2 separate regions of the Homo sapiens genome follow, and region 1 is linked to region 2. Evidence: promoter capture Hi-C in 16 types of primary human blood cells and fetal thymus (Javierre and others, 2016). All regions are on one chromosome and are shown on one strand. The core of a region is centred on a gene start or on the middle of the fragment in contact, and the rest is flanking DNA. Distances in the headings are between cores, read along the strand shown. Region 1 overlaps ZNF521 (zinc finger protein 521). Region 2 holds the start of ZNF521 (zinc finger protein 521).

What was found. Contacts are between HindIII fragments. The CHiCAGO score rates a contact against its expected background, and 5 or more counts as called.
Region 1: a fragment that was not itself captured here is called in contact with the fragment with the promoter of ZNF521 in region 2 in 1 of 17 cell types (megakaryocytes); the score reaches 5.1 in megakaryocytes.

What each region holds. Positions count from the first base shown.
Region 1 is chr18:25,096,185-25,103,023 of GRCh38, forward strand. All of the region lies in intron 5 of ZNF521 (zinc finger protein 521), which reads right to left. Among named protein-coding and RNA genes, the nearest start is that of LINC01894, 110 kb to the left of the region's middle. The HindIII fragment of the contact is 4,297 bases long and covers 1,598-5,894 here.
Region 2 is chr18:25,350,029-25,357,258 of GRCh38, forward strand. It overlaps ZNF521 (zinc finger protein 521), which reads right to left and starts at 2,138. Exons shown (of 8, transcript NM_015461.3): 1 at 1,977-2,138; 2 at 879-919. The coding sequence starts at 918. RefSeq lists a silencer at 2,164-2,233. The HindIII fragment of the contact is 3,815 bases long and covers 1-2,897 here.

The DNA.
Region 1 (6,839 bases), core at 2,496-4,995, 250 kb before region 2:
TTTACTCCAATATTAAATGTTTCAAAGGAAAGCGTCTGCATACATAATTGGACTACAACCTCACTGACTTAGTAGGAAACGTGCTAATCACTTACAAAATTTTGTGCTCTAAGAAAACCATCTGCTTGTCTAAAGCCAGTTCAAAGATGAATGACAACTTCTATACCTCCAATTTATAAAACCTGGACCTACATAACTATTTATTAGCCTGTTTTATAACAGGAGAAATATTAGTTACCATTTGGATGCTCAAGCACAGGTTTAAATTATGAGCTCCAAGGTGGCAATTGGTAGTTTAACACAAGACACTGACATTTCAATATAAGCTTTAAACAAGAGAAACCCTTTAAGCAGCCTCCAGACTGTGTGTCCCATGTTTATACTCCTTTTCCTTCAATAAAAACAAAAATCTAGAGTGGCTACAAGCAAATGTTCAGTGGCTGACTTACATGCTGCTGTTATCCCAGGAATCACTGGGGGCCCCCTTATATCGTCTGATCAACGCTACAGCCATTACTGAGGGCCAATTTGTAACAGTTTATAAGTAGAACTCCTTCTCCCTTTTACCCTCAAGACTGGCCAGAAGGGTCCTCCAGCCTCTTCCACTGCATAAATCTATAGGCTAAAGTCCACAGATAGAAACCCCTCCTGCTATATCACCATGTGGCCGGGGCCATACTTAAAAGCTCTGATCTGAGTGGGAGTAAACTCTGCCCTCAGAATCCAAACAGAGGAATCAAATGCCCTACAGTTGTAACTTATCCAGTTCGAATGTGTGTTACCACTGTATCCTCATATATATTTTTAAATCTAAGAAAACTATGCCCTAACCCAATTCCCAACCTCCCACCCTTTACTTTGCTTCTCCTCTTCCTTGAGTTAATTTCCAAGCACACATTTATAAGCTAGGGGTCCGAGGAGTAACAAAGAAAAGCCATACATGACAAAACTCACCCCTCGGCTACATTGGCTCGCCCTAGAAACCAGGAGTAGAAAAATAGGCAGACTGCAGTATAATTTGCCATGCACACAGCCATCACATTCTTTCCAGGGCCATAGCACTCAGCCACGATAATTTGTTGTATTATATACAGCACATGTTTCATGACTGTAACATAAACACACTGTGGTGCTAATTTGGCAATGGAGAATATGACTTAGGCTTCAAAGTCTGCCGGTAGATTAGTCATTAAGCCCCCAAAGTAAGGCAGAATTTGAGAGAATTGCATATTGTGGGAACGTTTTTTCTCATACCAGTTAAAAAGTTCTGCCCTTATTTTTTTTGAACGAGTTGCCATGAAAATGAATGCAGCCTGAAGACCGACGCTAGCACCTTCTAGGAGTTTTGTCACTGGCAATATGGGAGTGTCTGGCACTGTCAGTATTTCTACGCCACATGAGAGAGGAACAGAAGACACAGGCATGAGACTCTTACAATAAGAGGAAAAGGACACTGGGACATGAGGAAATGAGCTCCAGGTTCCTGGACCCTGACTGTGTGCACAAAGTGCCTAACCCTTAGGTATCTCAAGAGCCGCAGGATACACATCCTGTGTGCCTCAGTCAGAATCTCACTTCCAGGAGATCTACAGGTGCAAGCTTACCTTAACTTAGTTACTGGCTGTTTTTAGCCAATGGTCTAAAGGCTACAATGCTTTTGGACTTTATAAGCAAAGCCACTGATATTGCCACTGTTATTTCCTGCCTTGAACTTCTCATTATCAGCAGGGCTGGAGCAGGAAATGATTCAACTGGGGTAGGCTGCATGGTACCCAGCAGATTTTAAAGAGCCCGGGGGCTGCCTAGAGCCCCATAAACATCAGCAGCTTGGAAACTAGCAGGAGGTCCAGGTGGGTAGGGAGAGGAGAGGCAGGCAGTGGGATTTTAGATGCTCTGAGATGCAATATCGTCCAATTCCTTGGCTATTATTATAGGTTGTGTGAAGTACTTATTAGAATATTCTCATGTAGGAGAAAACATTGGAATGTTGTTCAAACAATAAACAGTAAAACAAACAGCCCACCAAAAAGGTGGCTTTCCTTCAACTGAGGGGACTCAGCAGTGGTATTTTGGCACAAGTAGGGAATGGGGATAAGCACACAGACTACAATGTTTTTCAAACCTGGCCAGTACATTAGCTCCTCTAGTTCCTTCTTTTCTTCTTCACATTCTGAATCTAAACATGGACCCCATGGTTGAAGTCTCAGAGAAAACATGGTGCCTACAAATAGCTTTAAAGGTAAAACTTTGCCCTCATTTTTTTTTTATTAAAAAAAAACTGCAAACACCAGTTTTGGAAGGGCACTGATAAAATCACTTTGATTCTTCCTCTCCCCATCCCAAGAAAAAAATTGTTAGCCAAGAAAAGAAGAAAGTAGTGGATATTTCTTAGCAAATATTCTGGAAAAGGCAAGGGCAGGGATAAGGACGGGAGTGAGGACTGAGACCAACTAAGTCTGATGTATGTCCTCCAGGTTTGATTAGATATTGGAGTTGCTTTTAAACAACTTGGATGTTGTTAACACAGTGCCACTGTGTTGCACTGAAAAGGATCCAGTTTACTTGAACAGTCAATTCTCCCCCTCATTTATACCCACTTGAATACAGGAGAGTACATTTTTTCTTTCAAAAAATTTTTGTCACCTAATCTTTAGTGCTGTTCTGTTCTCTGACTTGAAAGAAAGTTTGTGAGCACGCAAATACAAGTATAAAACATTTGTTTCCATTTCACATAACAGACTAGATGAATGGAATGATTGAAGACAGCAGTGTTTCCAATTCAGCAACGCATTTCAGTTTTTGCCTTGCCTACAAAGAGTGGTGTGTGGCAGCTCTGACCATCTCAATGCCATAAGAGTGTTGAGAACTCAGTTTGGGGTTATTCACCTATTCTTGCTACAGTGCAAGTTCCAGGAGGGCAAGGGTATTTGTCTGTTTTGCTCATTGATGTACACGAAGTACCTAGAACAGTACATGGCTCATAGCTGGAACTCAATAAATATTTATTGAATTCATGGGAAATAACTACTTAGCAAACCCTATATTTAATTTCATCAGAATAAAATGCCAAGACTGATGGTAAAACAATATCTATTGTTTGTCAGTTGGGTTTCAAAATTTTGCTCCGTTCCCTTGTGCATTAAACCCTGTGCATATAACATAGCGGACTGGCAAAATCCACCTTACAGTGCTTGGCTTCTTTATTTCCCAAAATAAGATGAAAATACTCTGGCAAATAAAGCATTAACAAAGTAGCTGTCTAATTTGCCAACTTATCCCTGGCAAGAAACTGATAAGCCAAAACTTATCCCTTATTTCCAGAAGAAAAATATTATTATGTATCTTATATCTGAAATACCAAAAAGTGCCATATCAAAGAAGGGATAATTACCTTTTATTTGTCCCAAGTCATAGAGAAGTCTCTATACCGTACATCCATGACCAATAAACAATTTTTATTAATTGTCTGTATTCTCATGTTACAAAGCTCCATTCTTTTAATTAATTGGCTAAACCAGATGTATATGCATTTATTATACTCTTTGTTTAAAATTTCTCTTGTTTGATATCAAATACCTTCTATTAATGCCCTTACATCTGGGACTTCCGGCAGTAGTGGAAGTACAGGTATATTTACCTTTGAGTACTGTACAAAACCCCCACAAATTGGTAAGATCGAAAGAGGATAGTTCATGCAGCATAAACTAAATGTAACCTGCTTTAAAGTTAAATCTATTGGGAAAACATCTTTGAGAACTGAGACAGTGCAAGAGTCAATATTAATTCCACACAGTGGGGGGCCCGCAACACAAGCCATGTGCTGGACACGGCACTCATCAGGCATGTTTTCCTGTTGCTGTGCTGAGTTTATGGCAAGGGTCAGGGCCTTTTCTTTTTTTCTTTCTTTCTTTTTTTTTTTTTTTAATCTTCTTCTTCTTGGCATAAAGCCACTAGTTATCTGAAGGAGAAAGTCTCCAAACACTGAAAAGCTGTTTATCCTTGCTAGAAAGCACGGCTTGCTACTGCTGATGATTTTTTAAACAACAAAAGCAAATCAAACAAACACAAGAAATTGAGTGAGGTTCAACAGCTTCTGCAAATGTTATGGTCCTTGACAACCATGGGTTTTAAGTGCTCACAGGTTTAGATGAGAAACTAAGTCAAGCATTTTCAAAGCTAATTTTCTTTCTAAGAAACTATATTATTGATTACTTATTGCAAAGATGACATCTTCTCTCCTTCTGATTCTGTTTATTAATAGAATCACAGTTCACCACAAAAGCACACGTCATATCTGCAATGGCACATGGGGGTGTTAAGGGGGCCAAAATCTCTCTAATTTCCAAGGGGCTCAATCCTGCTCCTTTCACTTTGTGGCAATGGTAAGAAAACCATTAAGCAGCAATGCAAAAATCACAATACTGCATGCTATTTGCAAATGAGTCACATTTTTATTGTTCTATTGGTGTGACCTTAGAAACTTGGCCTTGAAGAATTAAAAAAAAAAAAGGTAATGGCACAATAAACGCAATAAGATTTCTAAAAACAGTTTATTGGAAATGTGCTGTGAAACTTGAATTCTTCTAATCAAACGATGCCACCCCTTAGAGAAATTTGCCTGTGCATTATTAAAGTGATATACTGCAGTACTAGTTAGAGCTCCATAACCTTTAAATTGCCTGATTGTAATTAAGGCCACTAGTTTTATTTAGGAAGGTTCAAGGAGGCTCAATTTAAGTTGGCTTAACTAGTGTGAATTTAATGTCATGCTGCCAGAAGGCAGAGGAGCATTCTGGCCTGGCTGTTCTGTGGCACATGCAGCTGTGGGGTCATGTATTCTAAATTAAACCCAGATTTTAAAGAAACTACAGATATCAGTAAATAGCTGGATGTGTGTAAATAAACGCCCCCATGTTTGCATGTGTACATCATTCATTCTTTCATTCAGTCATTCAGTATGCTGGCAGTTTTCCAATTTAGGAATCTAAATACAGTTGGCCCTAGAACAACATGGTTAGAACTGTGTGGGTCCACTTACCTGCAGATTTTTTTCAACCAAATGTGGACTGAAAATATAGTACTCACGGGATGTGAAACCTGCATATAGGGGTTCCACATATACTGAGGGACTTGTGCATGCATGGAAGTGGGTATCCTAGAATCAATCCCCTGCATATCCCAACGGACAGCTGTACAGCTGATCATTTACAGAATGAGGAGAAGGGGTTTGTAGATGTTTTTAAGGGCATGATGACCCCTTTCACAGAAAGGCATGGCTTAAGGCAATCTCCAGTCAGCATTAATGATTTAAAATGAAATGTGCATGTAACAAAGTTGTAAAGGCAGGAATCTTACTATAAATAAATTCTAGGAAGGAAAATTTATAGTCAGGAATATGAGGAGAAAAGAAAAGGTATTCTTTGGACAGGCCACTGAATGGAGTGCTGAGAACAATATGTAAACTTCACTGAAAGGGCAGCAAATCAAGGACTGAAACAAAAGATGAAAGAAAATGTAGGTACTCAAAGCACAGACTAGCAGAAGCAAAGGGAAGCAGCAGGGAGAAAACACTTACAGATTTGACCCATGTTCAAAATTTTACTGGATGTGAACTCAACAACATTCATCTCTGGATAGAATGCTGGTAATTTTCTGTAGCTCCAACAGCAATAATGATAAATGAATTTCTTTACAGCCAAGTGGCTCAAGCAGCCAACTACGTTACCACTATATAATTAATAACAATAAGCAATTAAAGAGAACAGCAGGTTACAACTATAAGGTGTCAAAATATATCAGCAAAGGAAAATACAGCAATGATACACTTAAAAGAAAAATAAATGTACAGCACATGAATCCATGTAGTGTCTTCTTCCAGACTATATTTTGGATAAAGCTTTTATGTTTGAAGAAAAATAGACGATGGCCTAAAACTACTATAAAGCAATTAATATCCCTCCAAAAACAAATAACACTCCTAATGCTCAGAGAAATCTGAAATGTGATATGGGACACACGACTGGGAAGGCACACAAGAATTGGCTGGCTACTATTTGGCATTTTTTTTAAATTAAAAGATAATTTTTTAAATTAAAAGACATTCTAATAAATACCTCACAAAACTGTATTTTTTGGCTTAAGTATTTTCAAAGATTTTCATGTAAAATTGAGGAGAAGCAAGCAACGAGGAGAGTGGAGGAAAAAAGAAAGGGAAAGAGTCAACATGGTACATTTGGCTGAACACTGGAGCACTGGATAAAATTTAGAAGGAGCTTGGAGATGCTCTAACTAAGGACTTTTTTAAAAGATGAGAAAATTGAGACTATATATATATATAGTTTTTATTTTTATTTTTTAGAGTAAAGGGGTCTTTGCTCTGTTGCCCAGGCTAGAGTACAGTATATGTGCTCATAGCTCCCTGCAGCCTCAAGCTCCTCGGCTCAGGCAATCCTTCTTGAATAGCCAGGACTACAGGTGTGTGCTGCCATGCATGGCCTGAGACTATAGATATTAACCAACACACCCATGACAGAAAAGCCTTATGGTCATGGCCAGCACCAGAATTCAGGCTTCCCGAATCCAAGATTATACTGTCCCACCAACCTTCACTTAAAAAAGAAGTTATTTCCTCCCTTAGTACAATGTAAGTTGTCAAGGAAACAAAACAGCAGTTACTGTTTTCTAGATCTCTTATTGATGTGCAAGGAGCTATTTCTATTTCCATGCCAACCTGGTGACGCCTTTGCTCCCTGACAAATCAAGGCCTGAATTTATTCAAATCCACCTCATCCCCCTATGTCTTAAGCAGCTACTGTTAAAGTCTCTCTCACCCCTTGAAA
Region 2 (7,230 bases), core at 888-3,387:
GAGGCGGCCGAGGAGGAGGAGGAGGCCGCCACGTGACTCTCCTCGCCACATTCCAACACAGCCATCAGATCGATAACTTCAGGGACCCCCGCCCCCGCCGCAGCCAGCTAGTGCGCCCCCAAAATCCCGCACGCACGCCCCGCAACTTCCCTCTCCAACAGGGACGACGGAGAGCTGGACCCCACCGCGAAACGCAAAGGACTCCAGGGGCGGCGGGGAGAAGTAGGGGCGAGGGGCGGTCAACTTCTGGGAATGGCCAAGAGGGGTGCTCTGAGGCCCGAGCCGGGGTCCGGTGCCCGCGGCCGGCGGCCGGGGTCTGTTTACTCCGGCGACGTGCGGAGAGGACCCAAGCAGGACGCGGGCGGGCGGGAGGCGGCGGCCGGGACCCCGGGCCACGTTTGTCACGAGCGGGGGCTGCTCCCCACCTCCGAGATGACTTTTTTCTTCTTCCAAAGAAAAGGAAAAAAGAAGCACCGCACGGTTTTGCATATTTATTCTTTGCGAAAACACACAACAGAAACTTTTTCCTCCAGCCCAGATGTAGATCTCAGACGGGATATTTTTTTTTCCTCCCTCTCCGGATAATTTCGTTTCTTTCTCTCTCTCTCTCTTTTTTTTTTTCGGTTGTTGTTGTCTTTTCTCGCCCACTTTCTACCGCCGCCCCATTCGGGGATCCTCCTCCCGTCTTCGTCTCCCCCCACCCCGACACCTCACCCTCACTCCACCTAGGGGCTCAGCGGGGAGGGGAGCGCGCGCGCCCCCGCACTCACACTCACACTCACGCGCGCACACGCCTCGCAGCCACGCAGCCCTCGCTCCGCTACCCACAGTGACACTCGCGGATGGGGGAAAGCGGGGAGCAGGGGGTTCCTCCTTACCTTTGAGGGATCTCGGTTTCGCTTGCTTGCGGCGAGACATCCTAAAAGCAAACAGCTGAAGTTGTTTCAATTCAGCCCTGAAAGAAACTATACTTCCTCGTGGCCGCGCGCCCCTCGGGCCGCGGCGCCTCGCGCCCTCCGCTCGGCCTCCCTCGCGCCCTCGCTCCGCGCTCCGCTCCTCGCTCCGGCTCCGGCTCGCGCTCGCGCGCGGGGCTCGCGGCTGCCCGAGCTCCGCGCTCTGCACGACGGCGGCGGCGGCGGCGGCGGCTGCTGCACCAAACTTTCCCAGCCTTCGACCCCCACCCCCAATCTCCAAGAAAAAAAAAAAAAAAGGAAAAAGAAAAAAGGAAAGGAGGGAAAAAAAGCTAAAAAAAAAACCCCAAAGACAATGTTTGAAGAGCCGTCAGCTACACTAAAAAGAGAAAATCCGTTACTATTTCCACCTCAATCAAAATTCACATAGTTCATGCGAATAGAAAAAAACTAATAAAAAGAAAAGCGTCTGGGTGATTTTTTTTTTCTTTACCGCTTTTCCTTTTCAACAAATCCGCCCCCCCCCCCACCGGAAAAAAACAAATAACACTGATTTGTTTACAAAGCGAGTCGTGCTCTTTTGTAGTTGGGGGGACGAGGGGGGGAAATCGACCCTGCAAGGCGATGAAAAGGTCTTGGAAAGAAAAATCTCCCACCATCCGAGGCAGATGCGAACGGGCCACGAAAATAAGCAAAGGGAAAAAAATACTTTTTTTCTCCCTTCCCCCCACCCTTTTTTTCTTAACCCACACTAAAGTAATTTCTTTCAAAAAGAAAAAGCCAAAGCACCCGAGCCGACGGCCCCCAGGTGGTGTGCGGGGCTGCTTGTGTGCAGGGGGTGTGCGGGGCCCGGGCTCGGGGCGCCCCTCTCTGGGCGGGGGCGCGGCGCCGGCGGCTGGCGCTGGACCGGGGCTCTAAAGTCTACGGCTGCCTCGGCAGCGGCGGCGGCAGCAGCGGCGGCAGCGGCGGCGGCAGCGGCGGCGAGAGCAGGAGGAGGAGGAGGAGGAGAGCCGGGAGCAGGAGGAGGAGAAGGAGTGTGCTGTGTGCTCCCTCCTCATCACAAACCTGCAAGGTCTTGGACTGCGCTGTCGCTCCGGTAGTCCACATAATAATGGAAAATGGAAGCAAGGCCCCCAAAGCCATCAGGATGGCTCCAGAGGGGGCCCCTAACCCGCAGGGACTCGCTCTGTACGTAATCACTGAGGAAATCATTGTCAGCCTGCCTGCACTCACACACAGACAGAGGGGCATGATTAAAAGGCGAGAGCGCGGGGAGCGGGAGGGAGGAGGGGGCCCGCCAAGACCCGGACTGGAGGCGCCGGCCGCGGCGCGCGGATCCGGAGCCAGGCGGCGGCCGAGCGCCCCGAGCCCCGCCCGCCGCCGCCGCCGCCGCCGCCGCCTCCCACGCGCCGCGCGCCCCGCCCGCTCCTGCGCCGCCGCCCCTCGCGCCGCCCGCCCGGCCGCTCGCACACCCCGCGCCGCCGCCGTCGCCGCCGCCGCAGCTGCGTTATTAGAGCTCCACGGCGGATCTCGGGGCTCTTCTGCTCGCTTTTTTTCCTCTTCAGAAATTAAAGCAGAGGAGCATCTGAAAGTGGAAAGGTCCCCCTTCTGGTAGGATGGATGTAAAAGGAGGCAACAATTTGTTCTTGAGGGGGCAAAAAAAAAAAAAAAAAAAAAGAAAAAGAAAAAGAAAAAGAAAGGAGGGGGGAAATTCATTGCTTGGCTTTTGCATTGTCGGACTTTAAAAAAGTGTGTCTGCTGTTGTTGCCCGGACTCGGGAAATCTTTTTTATGGCAACCGCAGACCTGCCAAGTCTCTCTTACTTGGAATCTTTATAAAGGCAAGTTATTTGGACTTTTTTTTTATTTTCTCGTTTAGAGAAAGTCATTGATGCTGACGAATGTCATAATGTGATTCAAAAGAGACAGCTTTGAGTTCACTTTTTTAACATTCTCAAATTGACATAGATCTTTGTCCAGAAAATAAAGCTTTCTGTTGATTTTTTCTTTAAGCAAGAGGTAAGGAAATATGCACTTAAGAATATGTGTACAAGAAAATAGTTTCTAAAATAAATTGAAATGTCTGCAGGTCGGTGGGAATTTTTGTTTCTTTTCGCAGTTTTGTTTTCTAACTTTTCACCTGCTCCCATCGCAAAACAAGAAACCATCACCTGTTTCCTTCTTTTACCTTATCTTAAGGGAAAGGATGTTTTAGTATTATTATTGTTGTTGCTATTTATTGATTGGACACGCTTGTCAAGTTATAAATGCCTGAGAGGGCTACCAAGTAGAGCTTAGATTCACAAGTCTTGGTGGAAATTAAGAGATTCAGAATACGGTTAATTACACAAAACAGGCAGAATTTTGTACAAATACTATTGTTCTTAATCAGATTTTAAAAATTCTCCGTTCTGTAAAATTAAGGTACAGCTATCTATTAAGCCACCATGCAAAGACATCAAAGCTTTAAGGAAGTTGTATTTTTTCCAGTCTAACCTGTAAACTGCCTGGACCCTCATGTGGATAGCTGCAAATACAGTATGTTTTTTTTCAATATCTTCATTATAATTAAATGAGTTTTCAATCCATCTGCAGTAATTCCTAAAGTGAAATCATAGTTGTAGTCAAATTTAACTTTGCATGACTGTGAAATAAAGCAACTTTTGTTGCAGAATCTGTGTTGGTACATTAAGGATTCTAGATTTTATACATAACCTTATACATTCATTTTCACAGAAATCATTCAGAAAGGGAAAAATGTGTAAACACCAAGTTTTTACAAGACTTTCCTTTCGTGTGGTAGCCATATGTGTGCAGAATACTATGGTGCCATGTATGTGTGGTCCCAAGTTATGTGTGATATTATCTAAAATATTGATGGCATCTAATCCTGGTTTTATTGGAAAGTGAAAAATTGCTAACGTAATACTAACGCGTACCCTAATTTGTTAAAGTTTTCTATATGGGTTGATTTTTTTTGTTTCTTTCTCAAAGTAGTCTACTTTGCTTTACTCTAAAATTGTTCTTTCATTTCCCAATGTTAGTATTTCTGTTGCCTTCCTCTATTAAGAGATAAATAAAACCCTTAGCTCAGAGATTTAGATCTGGCTCAAGAGCCTGATATTTCAGTTTGGGATAGTACTGCATAGCATTTTAAGGGAGGTTAAAGCACCAACCACCCAAAAGACAAACATAAAAACTATTTTAACCTAAATCTGTCAAATATTGACCTATACAGATAGGTAAAATGCTTTTGAAACGTATCTTTAAATACTTTAATTTCCTCCCCCCAAGTTACCAAGGGGGGGAAGATCATTGATTATGTTTCTAAACATAAACCCCAACATCCACCCATGAAGCCAAAGCCATCATCTCTGAGCAGAATGCAGCAACTTTGTGAATATTTGGATGCTGTTGTTGATGATGGGGTAATAATGCATAAAGAACCATGTGCAAGGAATTTTACTAAAGACAAGACAAATATTTTCTTAGGTCTCATTAAGGGGTCTTGAAGTCCAAGATAAAACATCACCCATTCTACCTTTTGGAGGGACAGATCTGGTAGGCAAAACTCCCACTGATTTCAGCATCCCTTACCACCGTATTCCATGTGAATTAATCAATTATGTGGAATTGGTGAGCACTTGGATTTCATTAAACACTGCTGAGTAGCCTCGCAATTACTTTCCATGCTTCGTATATAAACAGACACCAAAAATGTAAACTGTCCAATTCACCTGATAGAGGCTACACAGATGCTAAAGAAGGAAAACTAAGATTTGTCTTTCTTTGGACGATGCGAAAAAGCATAATTAGCCACTGCAGAAAGGTAAACATGCCTAACTGATAAACATTTTTTCATGCTTAACAAAATTCATTTTGGGAATAGTAAACTACTATATATTCAGTTATTTATCCCCCAACTTTTAAATGTATTATTCTCATTCTTAAAACTGGAAACCAGCTACAATGAGAACGTCATTCATTTTCATTCAACAGTTTTTTGAACATCATCATCCAACAAATTGTGCTGTCCTCCAAATAACCTATTTAACATCTCCTGAATAACCAGCAAAAACATATAAAGCTTATAAATTTTAGGTATTATTTACAAATAACCTGAATAGTAGTATAAAGTTTAAAATGAGACAGACCCTTCATTACCGAGTTCTATTAAGAACTTAAGTAGCTACATAATTAAACTTTCCATTTCGTATTAACATATGATTGATTTAACTTCTGGCTCTTTTCATGCATTGACTCCACAGCACCTACTTTTAAGATATTTTGCACTTTTCAGAATGTCTTGCATTGGTGAAACAAACAATATCTGGAACTGAGACTCTTACTTGAAAAAAAGATTAACGTTTTTTCAACTGTTAATTCCAACAATAAAGATATTGCTAAAGGAGGGATTAATGTTAAAGGAAACCTGTGTCCATGAAACTTGACCTCAAAGGAATTAATTACAGAAAACACATTAGGTACCAGTTCAAGTAAATCTCCAATTTTAAAATGTCAGTTGCAAAGCATAAATTGTCTTTGATAAGTTATAAGTAATAGTGTCAAAGTTGCAATCTGGCATCTAAACCAATTACAAAGAGAATACTCTGCTCATAATTTTATATAAATATCCTTAGCACATGTCTACTTATCTGTACAACAATTTCATGTAATATTTTAAGATTTTCAAGACCGATTTCGGATTTTTTTTAATATTGAAAGTTAGTTCAAATCTAGTGTATTACCTGCCTGAGTAATATGACTGTATCAGTCATATTACTCCACAGAAGCTTTCTTTTAAAGGAGGAGCATTTTTAACAAGAGTTAAATTAAAAGTCCTATGAAAGGGCAGTTTAATCAAAGTCCATCTGAATCTAATGTGTGTGTCTGTGTCTGTGTGTTTAAAATATAAAATATATGTGTGTGTTATATATGTATATACATCCACGTATATACATATTAACACATTATTGTTAGAACAACATATAAGGGACTTTTAAATTAACATTTGTGCAAAGTATTAGTGATGCATTTGGAAAGGCAATATTTTTAGTCCACAAAAACTATACTCAGTTCCCAGTTCCTTTAATTGTCCACCATCTAATTCTCAGTAAGTTACTTAATATCCATCCTGCATACTCATAACCACACTCTACCTCTTAATCTATGAAATGGGTAGCAATGTTTGAATGCAAAAGCATTTAAGAACGTCACATGGAAAAATCCACATTAAATATATAAATATGGCAAATGTATTTTGTCATTATGAATAACAAATTCTATTTTCAATCTTTTTTTAGTCTTATTTACTTGACTTCTTTTCTTTCATAAAATCTGAGTCATTAAACCCCTTTAAAAAAAATTCTGATACAGATGCGTTGAGGACTTTTCTACTTGGTGGTGGACTATATCCAAAAAGGTAAAGTTTTTTAAATGCACACTATACATTATTCATTTATTTTATAATACACGAATTCATTGAAATTTAAAGATTTAATTTCAACATGTATAGAAACGTTTAAAACTAGAGGTTTCACATTGTCATCTTTTCTTACTGAGGCTTTCATAACCACTGCAAAGGTCCTTATTGAGCCACTAAAACAATAAAAGAGAGAAAATATCCTTTCTTCACACAGAAATTGCGAAAAGAAAAGAGGGATCTTTCAGTAGAATAATATTTGCAAGCTACTTTTAAAGGTAACTGAAAGGTGAGGCATCATCTTAAGAAAAGAGATTGTAGCATATTAGAAAAACCAGATAGTACTGATTTGTGAATTCTAAAGAATTAAGGATATAGATAAGTGATCTACTAACAAAAAAAATGAACATGTACCCTTAAAAGAGACAATAAAGGAATAAAACAGTTGATAGAAATTGAATCTACCTTTTTAAGTATTGCTAATAGTATATATTTGTAGAACTTAACTGGCATATGCTAAAAATAATTACTGTCATCAGAAATACAAAATTTATAAATAATGAAATAAAGAGGAAATAGTTATATTTCCTAAAAAGGCAAATTATGTTTCTCTCACTTAAAAAAAATTATTATAAACAATTTTTCATAAGTTATATGTCCCTAGATAATCATGCCTTTGGTAAATATTTTAGTTTTAGAAAGTGTACACAGTTGAATTAATTTTATACATTGAAAATAGAACATGTAATTTGGTTTATAACCCCAAAATTTTAAGTTTTTGTCCAAATGAGCACAAATGGATTTCTTTGGTATAGTTTAATGTAATTATTAAAATACCATAATATTTGGTTAACACTACGGTTTATAAAAATTAGAATATTGGTCATTAAAATCCAGA